2 separate regions of the Homo sapiens genome follow, and region 1 is linked to region 2. Evidence: promoter capture Hi-C in 16 types of primary human blood cells and fetal thymus (Javierre and others, 2016). All regions are on one chromosome and are shown on one strand. Each heading gives the region's core, a stretch centred on a gene start or on the middle of the fragment in contact. The rest is flanking DNA. Distances are from core to core; before and after follow the strand shown. Region 1 holds the start of CCDC6 (coiled-coil domain containing 6). Region 2 holds the start of R3HCC1L (R3H domain and coiled-coil containing 1 like).

Region 1 (3,597 bases), core at 798-3,297, about 38 Mb after region 2:
TTTCCAAGGCGGTTAGTTTTGTGGTGACGCTAAGAGAGAGTTAATTTGCCCCCTGCTCTGCCTGGAAGGAATGTTCCTGTTGCAATAAGCTCTAAAAGTGGAAGCTTTAAGATAATATGGAATAGGGAGCAATAGAAACTTGTGAGGTATGGCAGCCAGACCTACTCTTAAGATTCGATCACAGTGCTGAATAAAGGGGAAAGAATGTTGTTAAATCTGTTTCCCCCTGTGGTGCTTCTCCCTGCTAGCTTTACTCTTCCATTTCAACCCTCAAGTGAGCTTTCCAGAATCCGTTTCCAATTTAACTCATTGTCTCATGTACTAGATCCCAAAAAAGTGAGAGAACTAAGTTTCAGTGCAAATTAAACTGGATCACTTGTAACAGAATGATTTAGATTGCCTATATGTTTCTCAAGAGCAAAGCCAAGCATTTCCTCCCTCCTGCTATACAAACAGTGACAGAGTTCAGAAGCCCTCCAGCACTAAGCTAAAAAATACCTGGGAGAAACTGGGGTTTAGTTGCTGTTGGCATTTAAGCTGTTTGCTAAAAGCAGCCATCTTGGTGAAAGATGATGTCATTTGGAACACTTGGTGTTTTCGAGTTTATTCTGAGGTGCCAGTTTCCAAGAGCCATTGAATCACCGTTTAATCATGAGATCAAATTTAGGTTTAAAGATAATGAGGGAGTGGGAATAAGAATCATTCTTCTTTCTTCCTAACACTTTAGAAATCTTTCAGAAAGTTCAACCCAACAGAAAAAAAAATTACACTTTTTTTTCTATTTTCTATTACCATGTGTTTGTTGTAATGTTAACTAAGCGTGGGTAATAAAACTAGTCTGGTCAGTTTCACTTTCCAATTTTTATACATAAGTGAAAGCTGTTTTGTGTCAACAGGGCAAAGTGTTTAGAATCATCTCACCTGCTGGGCCAATTTCCTGCAAGCCTTTCTTTGGGAAGAGGAAGGGGGAATAAAAGTTTTTGATTTTTAATTTCTTAAACTGCAAAGCTAGAACCATGAATTAGACCGCATTACAGTAATTACTGTTTTATTTTTACATGCTAAAGTTTTCTAGGAGTGAGCAAGAGGATAGCAAAGACGGGTGATGTTGCACTCCCACTCAATCATTACTATTTGTATAGCATAATGTTATGTCCGCAGTTACTTTGGAAAATTGGCACTTAAAGAGGTGTTTCAATCTTCTACTAAAAGTGTTTCGCCTTCCTTTTTTTTTTTCTTCATTAGGTAAATGTTACTGTCTTAATCCTACTACGAGACATGTGCTGGAAATGTTTGCAAAATGCAAAGAGAAAAAGAAAAAAACAGTTGCACCTTGTTTAAACAATTGAGCGCAGTGTGGTTTATGAGGTTATTAAAGGAGATGTGTGTCTCTCCTGCAAATTCTTACTTAACAAGGTTAACCTGTGGCTGCTGTTGTTTCATCCTCCTCGGCCTCTTGTAGAGGAACTTTGTTCTCTTAGGTTTATCCAAGCCTTCCTAGTCAAAAACACCTTGCTTTTGAGAATATAAAACTGCGTGTATGTGTGAAACAGATAGAGGGAGACACGCGCACACACAGTCGGCGGAAGATGGGGCCACAACACGGTAGAGGATGGGTGCCGGAGCCCGGCTGACCTTTCCACGTGTCCCCGGCACCTGCGAGGCTGGTGGGGCATCAGGTTTCCTTTTTCTCGGGGCGGGCGCGAGCCCGGAAGAGGCTGGGCGGCCGTGGGCTTAGATCAGGGGGCTCGGAGGCCCTCCCTTGGAACACGTGTGGCTGGCGAGCTGGTGGTGCGGGGGCAGTCCTTGGCTTTCCCGCACCCGCAGTGCCTGCGCGTTCCCAGCCCGCCCGTGGTCACCAGACGGCGGCGGGCGGGTCCCGGAGCTTTCAGCCAGCTTTGCTGGGCGGCCTAGGGAGCGCGCCCAGCCCGGCTGGAGCGAGCCCCAGTGCAATACTGCCCAAGCCCGGGCGGGGTCTCTGTTCTCTGGCAGAGGAGGTCCCTTGGCAGCGGGAAGCGCCCTCTCTTTCTCTCGCCGCCGCTCCGAGTCTGCGCCCTGGTGCCAGGCGCTCAGCTCGGCGCTCCCCTGTGCTCGCCCGGCGCCCACTCATTCGCAGCCCGGCCTTCGTCGCCGCCGCCTCCCTGCTGCTCCTCCTCCTTTCCCCAGCCCGCCGCGGCCATGGCGGACAGCGCCAGCGAGAGCGACACGGACGGGGCGGGGGGCAACAGCAGCAGCTCGGCCGCCATGCAGTCGTCCTGCTCGTCGACCTCGGGCGGCGGCGGTGGCGGCGGGGGAGGCGGCGGCGGTGGGAAGTCGGGGGGCATTGTCATCTCGCCGTTCCGCCTGGAGGAGCTCACCAACCGCCTGGCCTCGCTGCAGCAAGAGAACAAGGTGCTGAAGATAGAGCTGGAGACCTACAAACTGAAGTGCAAGGCACTGCAGGAGGAGAACCGCGACCTGCGCAAAGCCAGCGTGACCATCGTGAGTGCCCCCCGGGGACGCGCCGCAGCGCCGACCTCCGCCCGCCCCGGGAGGGGCTGCACCCGAATCCAGCCACCCCCCAAGTCTTCCCCAGATTCCCGGGGACCCTCTGAGAGCACACTCCCTGCGGGGACCTGCTGGCTTCCGGGAGGAGAGGGAGGTATCCCTTCGGGGCCACGCGGGTCTGTCCTCCTCGGGGGTCTGAGGACCCTTGCGCGGTGCGGGGGAAGGCTACTGTGGCAACCATTCATGGTCCCTTTTAGCCTCTGGAGAGGAGGCCCCTCCGGGGCTGGGCTGGAGGCTGGCGGCGTGGCTGGGGGGCGGGGTAGGACTTTTTTCAGCCCTAGCATGTTTGAGGGGTGCGTCCAGAATCTGGGGAACCCCAGTCCTGGAAGAGGGAGGAAGCTGGGATCTCTTACTGGGTCCTGGCTCGGAGTGTGGGGGTTCGCAGCTGGACTGGGCACTAAGCTGGCATCTGGACTGCGCTAGCTGGATCGCCCGGGGAGGGGGCGGGAGAGAGTGGCCGGGAATCCGGGAAGTGGAGTTTTCTGGCCGGGATCGAGAGGGAAGGGCGGGTACGGCGCTAATGCTCCCACCTCTGTTGGAAGCTCTTTGCTTTGGGTTGGGAGGGTGGACGGTTTACAGCGAGGAGAGTGCAGCATCCACGCCTGGACAGGGCTGGGGCCGAAACCAGGGGAAGGGTAGTGACTGTGACTCCCTGGCTGAGCCAGAGGTACGTGTGTTTGCTTCATTCGTGGAGTGGTTAGAAGTATCTTGCTTCTGAGTCTAGATACTGGAGAACAGGCCATCTGTTCTGTTTCTACCTGTCCCCTGGAGGCTGCCCAGAAACGGGTAAGCTTGGGTCTGTAGGTCTCTCTCCTGGTGTGGCAGGCGTTTAGAAAGGCCCCTATAGCAGTGATGAGGCGAAACGTAACTAGAAAAAGTACACTGTGTACTCTCACCTATCATCCCTGCCAGCTCACCACATCATTAACATGAAGGATCCCCACACAGACAACTGTATTCAAATCAAAAGTTCCCCAGCCAGAAGCAGAGAAGATGATGTCAAGAAATCAAGGGGGATAAATGGCCATAGCTGCTGCAAAATAGCGGATT
Region 2 (3,310 bases), core at 279-2,778:
CCCCTTTAAAAATTAATCGCAGAGGTCGGGCACAGTGGGCACAGTGTCAAACGCCTGTAATACCAACACTTTGGGAGGTCGAGGCGGGAGGATCATTTGAGCCCAGGAGTTAGACCAATCTGGGCGACATAGTGAAATCCTGATTCTACCCAAAAAAAAAAAAAAAACTGATTGCAGAATTAGCATTCTCTGTAAGGGGAAAAATAAGACAATAAGCAACTTGCTTAGTCTCAAAGCTTAATGTCAAAAAAAATTAAACAGATGGGATATTTGGCTATTTATATTCTGAATTTCAACTGTGACACAAGACACAAGACCTGCTGGGGACAGGTATTAGTTGTAGTACAACCATATCTGAGGAACGTTTACTGCTTTATGCTTGTACCTGTGTGATACTGAAGGAAGGTTATAACAGCAAGAGATAGTTGTGTGTGCTGAGGAAGAAGAGTCTAAATTCTGGTGGGCCTTAAAATCCAGATGAAGTTTTAAATTGACTCCACAGGTGGTAACGCCCTAAGGTCACCTCTTCACTAGGAACCTGGCATAAAAACATCTGTATGGTTCAGATTCGTTTCCAAAGACACTTTCCCCCTATTTATTAACTAATTTGATCTTCGTATAGACATGAACCTGGTTTTAAAACTCAACTGACCTAGACTGGAGACTGGGGGATGGCAAGGTTATACCCGAAACATACTTTAGAGTTCAAAGCTTTCGCAGGAATATCACTTCTGCTGAAGCCCACAACCCTGGAAGGCCGCAGGGCAAAGAACATTAACCCCACTTTTCAGACAACGAAACCGAGGCTGCGCTAAACAGACTACTGTACAAAAGATCACAGGTCCAGCCAAGTGGCGGACTGAGACTTCCCCCAGGATATCAGACTCCAAATCCTGTGCTCCTTCCCGTACACAACTGAGAGGGGGCTGCACTCACAAACTTTAAAGATCGGACTTGGGGTTTTTCGCAGGCCTGCCAAGAAAAAGCAGGAAGTACATGCTCCTTTATAGATTGCTCACTCCCAGCCCGTAGCCCGGGGCTCCCGGGCAGCGGAGGAGGCTCAAAGGCGAGGCTCGAAGCGAAGCCCGGAAACCGCCGGCAGCCCTGGGGGCCCACGGCCCCGCAGCCCCGAGGGGGTAACCAGGGACCCCGCTCAATACCTGTTGAAACCCAGAAAAAGCACGTCCTTTCCGCCAGGATCATTTGGGGCGAGCGCCCAAAGCGAGCACGAGCCCCAGTGAGTGCAAAAGAGCCCCGGGAGGGTCCCTCTCAACCGCGGGCCCGCAGGGGTCAGAAGGCGGGAGCTTCCCAGTAACCTCCGCCCCAGGCAGGGGGCGGCCCCTCGCGTCACATGAGGAAAAAAAATACCAGCAACAAACGACGGAATGGAAGTCTTGTCCCGGGCTGTGAAGGGAGAAGTGGGGATTAAAAATCCTAGCTTGAGGTACAGAGGGAGGGGATACGGGGCTGGTTGTTACCGGCGCGCTGTTGCTCTCCGCTTCCGCCGTCTCCGCGAAGCTCTATCTCTTCCGCTCGCGCCGCTGGGGCGCGCGTCAGGCCTCGGCTCCGCCCCCAACGCCGTGGGGCCTTCTGGGGGTTGTAGTTTCCGCGAGGCCCGGCCGCGCCCACTGAGTTCAGGTCACGTAGGGGAGAAGCTGGCAAAATGGCGAGTGCCGGAGAGCATTTCTGCTCCTGTCCCTTCAACCCTTCCTCATTCCTCTCGGCTATATACGTGCGCAAATCTCCTTACATTCCACTCAATTATACCATCTCACTTCCTCCGTTCACAGCCAAGTTTTTTGAAAAAGATAATCTACACTGTCTCTACTTGCTCATCTGTGTTCACTCCTCATCGCAGCTTCCGCCCCCATGGAAAATGCCTTGTTGTCATAAGTGTCCTTGTTGCCAAACTCATTGGAGGTATTTCCGGACTCATCTAACTCAAGCTTTAGTCATTTGACGCTATTGGGCATTATCACTTATTTTCTATGACACTATCCAGGTTTTCCTTCTCTGAATTCATTCTACTTTGTTTCCTCTAACTTACCTCTAAAATATTGGTGTTTTCCAGAGTTCTTAAAATTGGGGTGGGAGAGGGGACACTCCAGTCCCTTCTCACCTGAGCTCATTGTTTGTATTCCCAACTTCCTAGACAAGACCTCTCCTCATCCATGCCCACAGGCATCTCCAGTGTCCTTGAAAAGTGAACTACTGGGGCCAGGAACAGTGGCTCATGCCTGTAATCCCAGCACTTTGGGAGGCCAAGGCAGGTGGATCACCTGCGGTCAGGAGTTCGAGACCAGCCTGACCAACATGGTGAAACCCTGTCTCTACTAAAAGTACAGAAATTAGCTGTGCGTGGTGGTGGGCACCTGTAATCCCAGCTACCCAGGAGGCCGAGGCAGGAGAATTGCTTGAAGGAGAATCGCTTGAACCCGGGAGGCGGAGGTTGCAGTAAGCCAAAATTGCACCACTGCACTCCAGCCTGGGCAACACAGGGAGACTCCGTCCCCCAAAAAAAGAAAAGTAAACTACTACCCCTCCTCCCTACTCATTAATATTCACTCTTTAACCTGATTCCTCCTTTCTCACTTCCTCTTCCTCCAATATTCAAATGGTCACCAAATCTTGGAGATTCTATTGTAGCAGGACGAGCCGCAGACAAAACCTCTCAGACACCAAGTTGTAGAACGAAGGGCTTTATTCAGCTGGGAGCATCGGCAAGCTACTGTCCTAAAATCCAAGCTCCCCGAGTGCACAATTTCTGTCCCTTTTAAGGGCTCACCACACTAAAGATTTCACATGAAAGGGTCGTGATTGATTGAGCAATCTGGGGTGTATGTGACAGGGGCTTCATGCAGTGGTAGTCAGAGTGAAACAGAACAGAGTACAATGTTCTTCCATACAATGCCTGGAATCTATGCTAAGTCATGAGTTGATTTTTAACTACTAGGTTTAGGCCAGGCAGGCCCAGGCCTGGTTTCAGGTCTGGTTTTGGGTCTGGTGCCTGGTGCTGGGCTGCCTGCCTTTGGTTTCACTTCCTTGTTTTTTTTCTTAAAACAGGTACTGAGTATAAAACAATATAAAACAATATGAGAGGGTCTCTTTCTTCTCTCACTATCTCCCAAGTACTCCTTGAATCTGTTCCTTCTTCAGGACTCCTAACTCATGACTCAGCTGCTCCTGTGGCCCCACCCAGAGGTGGACTCAGAGCATGAGGACTGTTTTCCACACCCCTATGATTTCATTCCCAACCCATCAGCAGCACCCATTCCCTAGCCCCCTGCCCACCAAAATGTCCATAAAAACC

The links. The method cuts DNA at HindIII sites, captures the fragments that hold promoters and counts their contacts. A CHiCAGO score of 5 or more calls a contact.
Region 1: the fragment with the promoter of CCDC6 here is called in contact with the fragment with the promoter of R3HCC1L in region 2 in 1 of 17 cell types (total CD8 T cells); the score reaches 5.2 in total CD8 T cells.

The regions. Positions count from the first base shown.
Region 1 is chr10:59,905,006-59,908,602 of GRCh38, reverse strand. It overlaps CCDC6 (coiled-coil domain containing 6), which reads left to right and starts at 2,047. Exons shown (of 9, transcript NM_005436.5): 1 at 2,047-2,481. The coding sequence starts at 2,179. RefSeq lists enhancers at 1-412, 3,105-3,334 and silencers at 1,458-1,752, 1,935-2,274, 2,305-2,584. The HindIII fragment of the contact is 3,234 bases long and covers 107-3,340 here.
Region 2 is chr10:98,132,875-98,136,184 of GRCh38, reverse strand. It overlaps R3HCC1L (R3H domain and coiled-coil containing 1 like), which reads right to left and starts at 1,528. Exons shown (of 10, transcript NM_001351015.2): 1 at 1,479-1,528. RefSeq lists enhancers at 830-969, 312-1,101. The HindIII fragment of the contact is 1,235 bases long and covers 714-1,948 here.